2 separate regions of the Homo sapiens genome follow, and region 2 is linked to region 1. The links are contacts of gene promoters, found by promoter capture Hi-C in human tissues and cell types (Jung and others, 2019). All regions are on one chromosome and are shown on one strand. Each heading gives the region's core, a stretch centred on a gene start or on the middle of the fragment in contact. The rest is flanking DNA. Distances are from core to core; before and after follow the strand shown. Region 1 holds the start of OLFM4 (olfactomedin 4). Region 2 has its middle 18 kb from the start of LINC01065.

Region 1 (6,995 bases), core at 2,674-5,173:
CCCTTGTGATGGTGGTGGGGAAAGGCTTCTGGGCACTGTTATGGCTCATTAGTCCAAACTTTCTCTGTGGAGGGTGTAAAGCTTCTCTTTTTCCCCCCAAATTAGTACATGCTACCTTTCAACACTTCAGTTGTTGCCTTTCTGCATTTGCGTAGAAGTTTGCCCTGTTTTCCATTAGTTGCCATTTTTACTAGTTTGGTTCTGCATTTTGTCAACAGGAATGATTTTGCTGCAGATTGAAAACATAAGTATTTGGCTGAAAATTCTGTAATTGGGGGTTTTGATCTTCTAAACCACAATAACATGGCAAAATTTAGGTAGTTCTTGATATAGGATAGGCTTAGGGAGTGAGAATGTTGATTTGGTGTTCAGGTCAGGCTGAGGAATAACCTTAAGAACTCGAATCCAAGTATGAGTTGCTAGAGTGGGCTACATGAGATTGTAGGTACAAGGGCATAATCATGACCCTGGAGAGAATTTGAGTTGCCTATGTTCTTTAACTTGTACAATTTCTCTTGCTTGGAAATCACTCCCTTTTCTTCAACACTAATTTTTAAAAAAATAAGTATTTTCTCCAATAGTTATTTAAGAATTTCCTTCACAATTCTTATTAAATCAATCCACTCATTCATGCATGCATGCATTCATTTATTAAATATATTCCTCAGTGTACAAACGTTTATTAGACACCAAATGCCAAGCACTGGGCTAGGTGCTGGAGATTGAAAACCAATGAAGCCATGGTCTCCATCCCTAAGAAGCTCAGCACCTGGCAAATTCTTCACACTTCAACCCATCTTGGGTCTCTGGAGTCTATCCAGTCATTTCTCAGTATTCATTTAACTGGTTTTGTGTTCAATTTGTGTTTATTCCTAGTATATTCCCTGAAGTGGCCTGCCTTCCGTAAGTGACTAGGCATTTTCATTAGAAAAAATTATGCATTCTTCTTTCCTTATCATCATAGGGCCTGATGTTCTGCACAGAGTAGGCTCTAACACACACTGTTAACTGAGGGACCACTTTCCAGGGTAAATAAATGGGGTCAGCTGATTATTACTTATATACACGATTGTTGATATTGCTAATAGAAATTTGAGGGTTGTTGACGATGTAGTCAACTGATATGAAAAGCCTCTATTACCAATCTGTAGACCAAACACAGCCTCTGTTTTCCTCATATACACCAGATACCCCATAGATACCCTCCTGCAAAAATGCAGCAGTATGTTTGATTTTTAATGACAGGAGGATTAAATTAAAGTTATGTCTACACGGATGTCTTCCTTGTGTGTTGCAACTGTTCAAGAAGTACGGTTTGGGGAGGTCCCCTAATGAAGTGCATAAATAGTAACTTTCTTTCAAACTGTCAGTGAAGATTGCTGTATTACTCATGTGAATTTCGGTGACCCCTTACTCTAGAAGGAGCCCAGGGTAGAACACATTTTTACAAATAATACACTTTGCTTTGCAGCTCTGATAATTTTGTTCCTGTCTTTGAGTCTGTCATACAACCAGGAGGCTGCTTGTTTCTTAGGACAAAGGTATTTGCAGGGAAACTGATCAAACTATTTTTATTAATAATCTCATTATTATTAATAATCTCATTACGGAGGCATCACCAATGCTTTTGTGCATTTGAGGGCTACCAAATAGATTAAAGTTTTATTCTGGAAACTCTGGAGCCATACAAGAACAAAGAAGCTTATGAGCACAGTGGGTGGTGGTTCTTCCCTGGCTAAGGCACATTTGTGCTTGGGAGAACTGCTGTCCCATTTCTGCAGTATTGCCACCCCTCTGGTAAGGGGTCTTCTAATGAATTGGCCATAGGAGACCTTAAAGGTAGTCATGACTACAGGCTATACCACTGTTAATGAGATTTTCTTTCTGACAGGGCACCAACATGCTCCTTGAAAAAAGGTACAAGGAAGGCTCATTACAGCCACATGCAGAGGCTACTAGCAAATGAGAACAGATTTGCCATTTGTTTTGGTGGGAATCGGGAGGAAGAGGGGAATTGTGCTGGGAGGTAGAGACACATTCTTCTCCTTATGTCCATATTCATTGCATTCAATCTTAGAATAATGGATTCAGTCTCCCAGTTTTCATTCTCACACATTCTGTATGCATTCCCTGCCTTGGACTGGGGATCTAAGTGGTTAGAACATTTGACCAAAGAGGCCAAGGCTGAACTGCTTCCCACAGAGAACAATGAACTTTACAGCCCACATTTCTCCCTATCTGTTCTTCTTCACTCTCTATCCATCCATTTGTGGTTTTCCTGTCTCCCCTTCCCCCTCCCCACCACCCCAGTTTCTGAATAGTGTACCAGGGGTTTAAGACCCTGTTTCTCACATTAGCACTGTGCTTATTCTGAGAGTTTGTGTGGAGCTTCTGGGGTGGGGTGGAGTGGGGCATGAACCTTCTCTCCTTGTTTTGAACCCAGCAATCTTACATATTGATCTAGTCTTTAGGAAATTAAACAAACAATGAAAAAGCTGACATTTTTATGGCACGTCAAAAGTCATAAGCAACTTCCCATACAATATTTCATTTAATTCAAACAATTTAGGAATTGTTACAACCCTAGAGGGGCTAAGTGACATGCTCAAGGCCACCGACTCATTGTGACACAGCTTTTTTGTTTGTTTTTGTTCTTTTGAGACAGCCTTACTCTGTCACCCATGCTGCAGTGCAGTGGTGTGAACATGGCTCACTACAGCCGCAACCTCCCAGGCTCAGGTGATCCTCCCACCTCAGCTTCCCAAGTAGCTGGGACCACAGGTGCATACCGCCACACTTGGCTATTTTTTTCATTTTTTGTAGAGACAGGGTCTCACCACATTGCCCAGGATGGTCTCCAACTCTTGAGCTCAAGCCATCCTCCCACCTTGGCCTCCCAAAGTGCTGGGATTACAGGTGCGAGCCAGCATCCCCGGCCCAGAGCTGGGTCTTAATACCGAGACTAACACCTTTTTCTTTCTCCAGGGAAGAAGGCAGAGGTCACAAAGGTGTGTGAAATGTTGAGCAGGGCAAATGGATCCTGGAGCCCAGGGTCAGAGCTGCTGAGCAAGAGAAAATGCATCTTATTTCTCAGTTTTATGAAGAATAAGCTTGAGATCTTGAATGCCTGGCTGGCTCACAAGAAGCTCAGGGGCAATAGAGGTCAAAGTTTTCTGGAGAGAGAAACTGCTCCTGGGGTCCTCCTTGACTGGGTTTGAGGCAGTGCCCTGGCCTGGGAGAGCGGGCACTGGGTCATCGGGATCCCTTTGTTTATTTGGGTGTTTTCTCTTCCCTATATGAAGCATACAGTGGTGAGTACTTGATAGGGCAGAGTCCTACCTGGTTGGCCAGGGAACAAAACGTTGCTGGTCTTTCCTTCAGAGTGGGGTTGTTAGACAACTTTGTCTAGAAACAGTCACTGTAAGGAACAGGTCAACGACAACTTGGGCAATAGGAACTGAAGAGGGAAGCTCAGTCGCTCCTGGAGGAGAGCCACAGTCCCTAAGGCAAGTTCCCTAACTGTCTGTGAAAAGTAGTATTCAGTAAAATGGGGGAGAGCACTAGAAGTGCTGTGAGGCAAAGGACTGAGGGTTGCTTTTCCTCCATGGAGCCTCCAAACTCTGTGTCATCCACAAAGACTACTTTGGTCTCATCTCTTTCAAGGAAGTACCAAGTGGGAAACCAAATATTGGGCTTTACAAAGCACATTTGAGTTAATGTTTGGCAGGGGATATCTGGATCCAAGGGCAGCTCACAGAGTGGGCCTCACTGACAAGGTGTGGGCCATGACTCAGATTCCTGGGTGTCCTGAACCTCCTGGGGCAGTTCACACGTTCCCTGGCCACTCCCTCTTTTCCTACATGCTGGCCATGGGGAAATCACCACTGGGCACTATAAGAAGCCCCTGGGCTCTCTGCAGAGCCAGCGGCTCCAGCTAAGAGGACAAGATGAGGCCCGGCCTCTCATTTCTCCTAGCCCTTCTGTTCTTCCTTGGCCAAGCTGCAGGGGATTTGGGGGATGTGGGACCTCCAATTCCCAGCCCCGGCTTCAGCTCTTTCCCAGGTGTTGACTCCAGCTCCAGCTTCAGCTCCAGCTCCAGGTCGGGCTCCAGCTCCAGCCGCAGCTTAGGCAGCGGAGGTTCTGTGTCCCAGGTGAGGAGGCCCCAGAATCTGAATGAGCTGCATTCATTCCCTTCCATTTGCTTTTGGGTACCTGAATACAATTTCATGGATGGCTAGACCTGGGCACTCTAAAAGATTTACGACTCATTTTGTTAACTATAGGTGCCCCGGAAATGAATTAAAGCCTCAGTAAAATAATTAAATTGTTAGCAAGAGAGACGATATCGCAGTTCTCCAGCTGGGACTTTTGGGAATATCTATGCTTTAGAGGAATTCTCAAATCTGGCTGCACATTAGAATGGGTGGCCGGGGGGACTCTAAAAGTACAGATGCCTGGGTTCTGTACTTAAAAAAATCCTACATAGATGTATACAAATCAAATATTTTAAAAAACCTCTCCCCAGGTGATTCTAATATATAGTCCAAGATGGGAACTGTTAGGGAAAGACTCTGTGAGTTGCAGCTCTGGGAAGTTTGTCCAGTTGTTTTGCTGCCTGGCAGGATCCCGGAATGGTGAACAGTAGCCCTCGAGGGAGTGAGAGCCGCAGTGCCCTAGTTGAAGCCCTGACCATTTCTCTTGGCCTGGTTTATAAAGGAGGTGGGTGTCAGAAATAAGGGGGGAGTTACTGGTCTTTAGCAAAGTGTTATTACCAGTGGACATTCGCCTAGGGGAGTGTTCACTCTTTGCAGTCTTCTTTACAGGGAATCTTCAGGACCATTTCCAGCTCCAAACAACAGTAGCAACAAACAAACAAAACCAAAAGTCATGCATTACAACGAGGCTGGTACAGCTAGGCTAAGTGCATTGAAGGCATAGTAAGCCAGTTCCGTGGGGGATGAGTCCTCTTTGGATCTCCTTTAAAGAAAGGAGAATGGGCTGGAGGGCATGAGAGGTTAGGAGGTAAGAAGCAGTTATTCATTTCACTCTGGGCCTTTCTGCGGGAACCCCACTCTGCAAACCTCCTAGGCTATTTTTGCTAAGGTATAACTTGGGGTGGGGGAGTCTTATCTGGGCCAAAGCTTCTCTCTCTAAGCCTCTAGGATCTTTCCTCACAGGTCAGGTAGCTGCTTACATTATCATGCTTGAATGGAAGGGCAAATGGGAGAAGGGGGAGGAAAAGACTTTTATTTGTTTTATTTTGACCATCAGAAATTACAGATAATAAAAATGTGATAATTAACAAATGATTTGGATAGGGCCTAGATAGAAACAGCAGCAATAACATTTACTGTGTGTCTAATAAATGCCAGGACTAGGTTAAGTACATAATATATATCTTTTTGTTGTTGTTGTTGTTTGTTTGTTTTTTGAGACAGAGTCTCATTCTGTCACCCAGGCTGGAGTGCAGTGGCACGATCTCGGCTCACTGCAACCTCCGCCTACCAGGTTCAAGCGATTGTCCCACCTCAGCCTCCTGAGTAGCTGGGATTACAGGCACCCGCCACCACGCCTGGCTAATTTTTGTATTTTTAGTAGAGATGGAGTTTCACCATGTTGGTCAGGCTGGTCTCGAACTCCTGACCTCATGATCTGCCTGCCTCAGCCTCCCAAAGTGCTGGGATTACAGGCATGAGCCACCGCACCTGGCCTGTATTATCTTATTTAACCCTAAGAGGTAGGTACAATTAATGGTCCCATTTTAGAGATGTGAAAACTAAGGCTTATCAAGGTGAAGTCATTAGTTTTAAGTCACTAAGCTAGCAAGTTATATAGCTCAAAATTAGTCTGTCCATTCTCTTCACCATGTCTGTACATATAGGTTTCTATATTTCCAAGGAGTATAGATGAAAATTGCTTATTTTTTAGTTAGAGGAGGGAGGCTTGGGAATCATAAGTAGGCACAAGGATTCTTTGCAGTCAGAAATCAGTTACATAAGTTTATTCTGTGATACTCAATGATTTCTGGGGATGATCAGAATTGTCTAGCACTCTTTTTTGGACTGAGGTTAACAATAATAATTTATTATGAAGCTCCATCACCAGTCAGAAACCAGCATTTGGGTAAGATTATCAACTATAATAATAGAAAATAAAATACAGATCAAGAAACAGAGAAATCCAGAATGCCTATTGTCTGGTAAAAAGACAGATATTTAAAAGTAGATGAGACATGGTAGTTAAATTGGACTTAGAGGTTTTAATTTTCCTTTTTACTTATCTCTCCCTGGTGAGTCAGTATCACAACTCCAACTTTTTTTTTATACTGGACTAGGAGTCAATTTCACTATCAACCTAATTTTCTGGGGCTGGCTGTCAGCTTGATGAGCTCTTTGGAAGGTGGTAGAAAACCCTTTTATAACTGTCATTGAGTAAGTTCCAAACATATCATTTTCTGTACTTTGAAAATGTTGAGTACCATTATTTTATACCTTGAATCTTTGCTGACACTTAGCCTTGGCTACTAATTAGAGCCAGTTGCAACATTAAATCACCTTAAATGTGAGTTGCACCTTCTGCTGTAAGCACTCAGAGTACTCTCTGCCTCAGACGTCTCCCTCCTGAGGAGGGGCCTCTGCAGGGTCCTCAATTCACAAGACTAGGAAAAGCCTCAATGCTCACTCCACAGAGTAACTGGTATAGTTGGAACTGCAACGAGTCACGTGTTTTCTTGTCATCAGGCTACAAGGCTGGTTTGAAAAAACAAGTAGGGCTTTCAGAGTGACAGTGGGCCTGATTCCTGGGCAGAAATTGAGTCTTAATCATCTCCCTAAAGCCAGAACCTGGCATAGTGTAGACATCAGTAAATGTTAATTGAACACGTGCTTAGGGAAAACCTACCAATATAAGGTGTCTTGTGAGGTACTCAGGGTCCTATTTGCCCTACAGAAGGGGAATCGCATATTCTTCCAAAGGCCAAGGGGACAAGCTCTTGT
Region 2 (6,854 bases), core at 3,920-6,419, 140 kb after region 1:
GGCTCTTATGGGCTGGAGGCACATGTATTAGATTATGTTTGGGAAAGGATGGGAAGAAATAAGTTAGTAGATTCTTCGTTTGATTGTTTATTGGTCCACTGTGGTTGTGAAGATTTACCTTTTTATTAAGATCTAAGGACTTAGGACACAGTCTGGGAAGTTGAGTGGGAAATTTCATCATTAATATCATCACTTAACATCTGTTGAGAATGCACTAAGAGGGCAGCATGGCGTTACAAGGACCAAGCAAGTTGATATTTAAATACTGTTGTCACAGGACCTATATCCAGCCCCTACAGATACACATTCACAAACATATGCACACATTTTTGGTTGAGCTACAGGAAATCACTGTTTTTGCAAGTAAAAAGTAATTTCAGATGTCTCAATGGAACACAATTTACTGTTTGGGAGGTGTGATCAGGGTAATCAAGTTTTATTTATTTATTTTTTAAAAAGCGCTCATACATCCAATAGAGTATTGCCTCCTTTAAAACTGTACCAGGTGGTCTAATTCCAAATATACTGCCATGGCTGTGGACATTTTTAGAATAGTCCTAAACCTGAGGTGTTTCATTTCCTCAATATTTAGAAACCTTCGAAGATGGGTTTGAATTTTGGAAATAAAGGAAAGTCATCAAAATCACCTCTTGTATGTAAAAACACTTTATACTGTATAAAACTGCTGAATGAGAGCTACTATTTTGAGTGTTCTTTTAAATAAGCAAAATTTGAATGCAATGGTTTCCTTGGGTGCCATAGCAACCACCAGTGCCTTACAATTTTTGATTCAAAAGATACTTTGAGGTCATCTGGTTGAACAATCCTTAAACTTTATCAAACTTAAAAATTCTCAGAGGAATTACAAATGCAGTTTTGAGCACCTTGCCATAAAGATTCTGATTTATTAGACTTAGAAATGACCCGGAAATCTATGCTTTTACTAAGTTTGTCAGTGATTCCAATGCAGGAGGTGGTCAACCATACTTGGAATGGCTGCTCTTACCTATAGAGATAGATGCTGAAATTCAGTGACCCACTGGAAATTATTCCACTACACAAAAGCTGGTCCAGAGCAGAATGCCAGGCTGCCGGACTCCCAGGAGAGCCTTCAGAAGGGACTTCTTGGGTTTGAATCACAGTATGGTACTTAACAGCTAAATGGCATCCAACCATTTTTAAAGCCCATGTTTTCTCATATGTAAAATGAGGATAATTCTGATACCAAGCTCACAGTGTTGTGTCCTGCAAATTGCTTACAATAGTGTCTGGTAGATAGTAATTGCTCAATAAACATCACTTACCCTACGTTTAGCCAAAGAATTTTATTATGGCTCTTTGTATTTATTTCCTTTTCTGTACTTGTCACTTTTTATGATTTCTCCCCTGCACTTTCACCCTCCTTTTCACAGGCATCTCATCTTGACATTCCTTCCCCATGACTTTGATCCCACCTTGGTTGCTGGTACTGCCACCAGACTAGAAAAAGTCACTGAAAGATAACAATCAGTTATAATAACTCTTTGGAATCCTCTCTGAGAGGAACAGCTGGGTCTTTTCACATTTTGTCTTTATGCCCAATTAACCTCTAACTACAGCTCTACTGGGTTGTTATTTAAAAAATTCCTCAGCTAGTGTGCAGAGATTGAAGTTATCAGCACAGAAATTCTCTCTTTATGCCAGATGAGTGGAGGGCAAAGAGCAGGATATAGAGAAAAGCAGCCAGCACAGCTGGTGGCATCTGCACTTGCCCACGGGCTCTTCAGACCTGGCTCTGAAGCCAGAGGCACTAATGATGGTGCCAGAGGGAGAAAGTCAGCATGAGGCATCCGTGCAAGGTGCCAATGAAGCACTTGTGTCTCTTCCCCATCTGTTCCCATCACCCGTACCCCCTCCCATTTGCTCACAAATAAATAGGCAATGGGCAACCAAATGCTGCCTGAGCTACCTGATGCTGTTAATTACTATGACTGCTTAGAGCCAATTATCTCCACAAAAGCAAAACATCTTCATATAGCATTCCAAATGGAAACTGTTTCATCTGGGGCAGAGACAAATTGAACACTTTGGCTTAGTTCAAGCTAAAAAGGCTCTTCTTTGGCATGGATTTCAAAGACCTATTTGTTGTCTTTTTGTTTCTTTTAATTTTTGAATTTTTGTTGTAGCTTTGCAGATGCCACAACTACTAAAAATATAGCAGGCATGATTGGGGTGTGATACTCTGTAAAGATAGATTTGTATATGTCTTTTAATCTTTATACATACATATATATATGTAATATGTACATGTAACACACACACATAATAGATGCAGAATGTATATTGTCACTTTTCCAAATCTGATCTTATTCTTAGTTTGAATACTATAAGTATTTCTCTATTCATTCAGTCTCTCTCAGTCTCAACTTGGCTAAAGAGTGTCATGTGAACTTATGGAGAGGTTTGCATCTATTCATTCAAACTTTGTTGGAAATCTAGTCTAGGACTTCATTCATTTAGTACAAATGATTAGACAAAAACTTTGAGTTAACTCTCTTATCTTTAGTATAAGTGAAATGATGCTTACATAAGACAAATGAGGTGTAAATCTGAAATAATTATCTGATTTTCTGGTCAAAACATTTCAACTAAGGAAAAAGTTAGGCTATGAACAATACATATTTTCTGTTGCTCTGATTAGTGTCATTGGACAATTGCTCAGCTCTCTTTGTTCATAGGTACAAGTTGAGTCATTTCTCTCCCATGTCACTGTTGGAAGAAACAAAGATAATTTGTATGGAAAGTAATATGCATGATTTCAGTGTCCTCTAAATGAACGAAGCTTCCACAATGAAGTCAAGCACCTGGAGGAGAAGGATGCAGATAAATGCATCTTTCAGCATGGACACACCTGGGAAAGGCCAAATTTCCTTGGGCATGCTTCTAATTTCCCCTTGGTTTCTCTAAAGGAGCGGACCACATGTCATGGAAAACATCCACATATTGACTCATCCTGGATAAAGTTCATGTGAACTGGAGAGTTTTGCCATATTCATCCAGTCATTCATTCATTTGCCATGGGGATGCAGTGGAGTTTCAATTGTAGCTGAGGTGAAATCCATGGGAAAAACAGTTTTTATTTACTCCCTGGAGTTAGAGAAGCCATACCGAGAAACTTCCAGGCCTACGAAGTGCTGCTTTTAGCAGTCCCAATGTTGTGAGGATAGCATACTTTTTTGAGATTTAAAAATATCAAGGTTGTTTTTGATAATGCCTGCCGGTTATCCTTAGTATTTAGCAGACATTTGGATGTGTGTGGTAGTATGTGCTAGTATCAAACGAGACTTCGATTTATAGGACTTGGATTGCTACTAGATAGTGATCACAGCATCCAACTGGTGACTGAGCTGAAGCTTACTAGGTACCCCCATTTCATCATGTGAGTACCAGGTAATAGCTATTCCGAAAAGGATCTCTCTTCACTGAGCTCCCTCCCAGCTTGTTAATTGTGCATGTGTGTGTGTGTGTGGGTGTGTGTGTGTGTGTGAGAGAGAGAGAGAGAGAGAGAGAGAAGAGAGAGAGAGAATATGTATGGGCAAACATGTATGTGAACATGTGTGAGTTTGTGCATAATGGGTGTGGACATGCATATATGTGAGTGTATGTGGGTGTGTCTGTGTGTGTGAATGTCTGTCTTCAGAATGCTTGTAATATAGATCATCATAGGCCTCTTGATGCCCTACAGAGAATTGAGAGACTCTTCTGGAGAAAGTTATTCAAATTATAGAGCAGTTGAGTAATTTTAGTAACCCAGCACATTCCTAAATGTAGTTTTGAAAAGGGGTTTATTGAAAAGAAATAGACCCTTTTCAATAAGCTTTAGGTTCTATCATACTATGAGGCAACATTTGGACAGTGTCCATGGTAATCTGTGCAGCAGTCCATGCTGCATTCATTTTAAATTGGTCTTTTTAAGAATAGCATTAAATGGCTGCTCATAAACAGGACTGAGCAGTTTCTGAGTGGGAGAAGATTCCTCAGTTCTTTACCCATGTGATTTGTAACACTGACGTGGGTGTAGAACATTTCTGCCCAGAATATCATTATACATTACATGGGGATATTTTAGAATAAATATTTTCATTTTTTTCTCAAGAAAAAAATGTGTTTATTGCTAAAATCCTTTTGGAAAATGAACCAAAAGGATAGATTATTATTTTTCATTTTTCTTACAAAATTATGCTCTGAATTGTCCCCGCTCCTTTTAGGGGCTGTGATATCAAAGGCTGATTTCATAATGGCTGTGTTCTGGTGTGCTTCCCTAATTTGAGACTGGGTCTTCATGACATACAGTGAGTGCAACTCCATTAGATGTCTTTTTAATTTAAGTATCTGGAGACTTAATTTTTTTTTCTTCTTAGCTACTTAGACTTATTCAACAGGCATTTATTAAGAAAATTTTGGGTCATCTATAATGACAGGTTCTGGGGAGAAAATGATGAGTATAATCTAGGACCCTCAAGGTGCTCTCGGAGTGGTGGGGGAGGCATTCTCTAAGAAAGAGCCTAATTAAGTGAGATGACAACACAAGGGAGTTCTTTTCTTGGCATTATGGAAGCTTTACAGAAGAAATGATACATGAGCTGAGGCCTGAATGATGGATATGAGTTTGTCATGTGACAGATATTGTAGGGGGGTAGTGAGAAAACATTCCAGGTTAAGTCCTGGATGTATAAAAAGAAACCCAACTGTCGAATTTCCATTTTCAGAGCTAAGTAGTCACAATTCAAGACCTATTTATTATTTTTCCTCCTTTTTCAGTCACTATTCTAGTCTTGCCATTTTCTCTCCTCTCCTTTGCCTGATTCTCTTCCAAAATCTTCTGAATCAAGCACTTGACTCACTATAAAAATATAAGACACCTAGCCTAACAAAGAGCAACTCTCTCCTTCCTTGAGTTTATTATGCTGCCTTCTTTGTCTAGGACAAACTGATTTCTTGGTTTAGAACTTTTTTGGCAGTAGGGTGAGGGGGAAGATTGGTGGCCAAAATGATGCTTTATATTCCCCAAAGCTACTCCAGCCTCTATGTAACAGCCCAGAAAAAGGACAAACCCTCTACTCCCATAGGAAAGACAAATAATTTGGGCAGCCCGCAGTTCTGGCCAGAGCTTATCCTGGGTTGTGTAACTTCAAGAGGCTCACTTTCAGTCAAGGCTAGTTTGAAATTGGTCTCCATTTGCTTTTTATTTCATGCTTTGAATTGTGAGTCATTGGGGTTTAAGTGCCCTTTAGATTTCTTAAAATGGACAAGCCATAAAACCAGACCAAAACAAAAAAACAAAAGAACACAAACCCCCCAAAAGTGCCTTGTCTGATTTGCAACACATTTAGCCTTTTGTGGAGTAAAATGTGCTTCGTTAGTAAACAGCAAGTGAAGATTTATTGGAGTTCGGTAATGAAGGCATCAACAAGTGGCTAGAGCAAATATTTTTCTGAAAACAGCAACCATATTCTGTTCTGTTTCATACTAGGTGGGACTGTAAATCTGCAAAGGTCAGAAAGCAGCTTCCCTTCAGGCTCATATGAAACGCTTGCAGATGTCATATAGTACCAGTTTTAGTTACAATGTTACATAGCAAACAAGGCCAAATTGTGGTTTAATTCCTGCATGTGTGTTCTTGATTTGTGTTGATTTATGTAGAGCAAGGGTTCAGCTTATGACCCCTGAAATGATCTATTCTTGTACTAACACCTGTTTTGTCCTTTGTGTTGCATAAATGATAATCTCCTTTTTGTCTAGGAGGTAATTTTTCTATATGGTGTGAGAATAGAGTTCTTTCTATCCTTTTGGTTCTTGAGAACTTTCATGTTTTTTCCTCTGTTTTCTTTAATTCCATAGTGTAATATAAGCACAGGAAGTGTGGTGTGCAAACTCTGGACTGATTAATACTATTTACTGTGATACTTCTTCTTGTCAATTGCTGCAGAAATGAGATACATCAGACCCTATCTGAAAAGAGGCATCTGGAGTCACTGGCTTCCATTGTCTTCCACGCTTTTGATTTCTTATTTGCTAATGTACAAAATTCTGTGATTGGGTAGGCAATTCAAGTTAGTTCTACAAATATTTATCAAATGTATGTGTAAGACTCTGTATTAGGTGTGTAGGGGCTGGGGAAGTGGAGGCAATAGCATTATGGGCAAAGATAAACAAGAATCTGTCCTTGTCTACAAGAATCCTAATATTTTGAAGGGGAAATGCTGACTTATAAACAAGAAGGAATGAAAATACTTTTATAGTAGAAGCATAAGCACAGTGCTCTGGCAACCTAGAGAAAAGGAAAGCTTTGGAAAAGCCAATTTCTTTTGAGCTGTAAAAATCCTTACAAACTGGAACTCATTACTTCTAGCTTGATATATATTCTCTGGGGCTGTAATATGAATAGATCCAGCTTCATTTCACATGTATATTTCAAAATTGCCTCTGGTTTTGGATATTTGTGGTGAAGCATTTTATAGACTGTGCTGGTTCCAAAGGCAGGTAGTATGTAGTTAAATAGTTATGAGAAAGCAAAGTAGTTTAGAAAAACCAACCTTTTCAAGTCTCCTTTGTTTGGATGACTTTATCTTGTATATTGTCTCAGACATCAATACTTTCAATTGTGGCTCAGAAGTTTTGCTCATCCATTAATTTCCCTTCTTTTTAAATATTGTATTTTCTTAACCTGGAATACATGGATGAGCTTTAGGGAACCTATGTACTCATTGTAAGTATATGCAAAAAAATCTCTCTGTGTACTTTTTTTTTCTTTTGACATAGAGTTTTGCTCTGTTGCCCAGACTGGAGTACAGTGACCCGATCTCGGCTCACTG

Evidence for each region. Contacts are between HindIII fragments. The study calls those that stand out against the background at their distance.
Region 2: a fragment that was not itself captured here is called in contact with the fragment with the promoter of OLFM4 in region 1 in 4 of the 25 tissues and cell types used here (H1 embryonic stem cells, dorsolateral prefrontal cortex, heart left ventricle and 1 more).

Annotation. Positions count from the first base shown.
Region 1 is chr13:53,024,890-53,031,884 of GRCh38, forward strand. It overlaps OLFM4 (olfactomedin 4), which reads left to right and starts at 3,924. Exons shown (of 5, transcript NM_006418.5): 1 at 3,924-4,151. The coding sequence starts at 3,948. The HindIII fragment of the contact is 5,150 bases long and covers 2,406-6,995 here.
Region 2 is chr13:53,165,980-53,172,833 of GRCh38, forward strand. No RefSeq gene overlaps it. Among named protein-coding and RNA genes, the nearest start is that of LINC01065, 18 kb to the left of the region's middle. The HindIII fragment of the contact is 4,126 bases long and covers 3,107-6,854 here.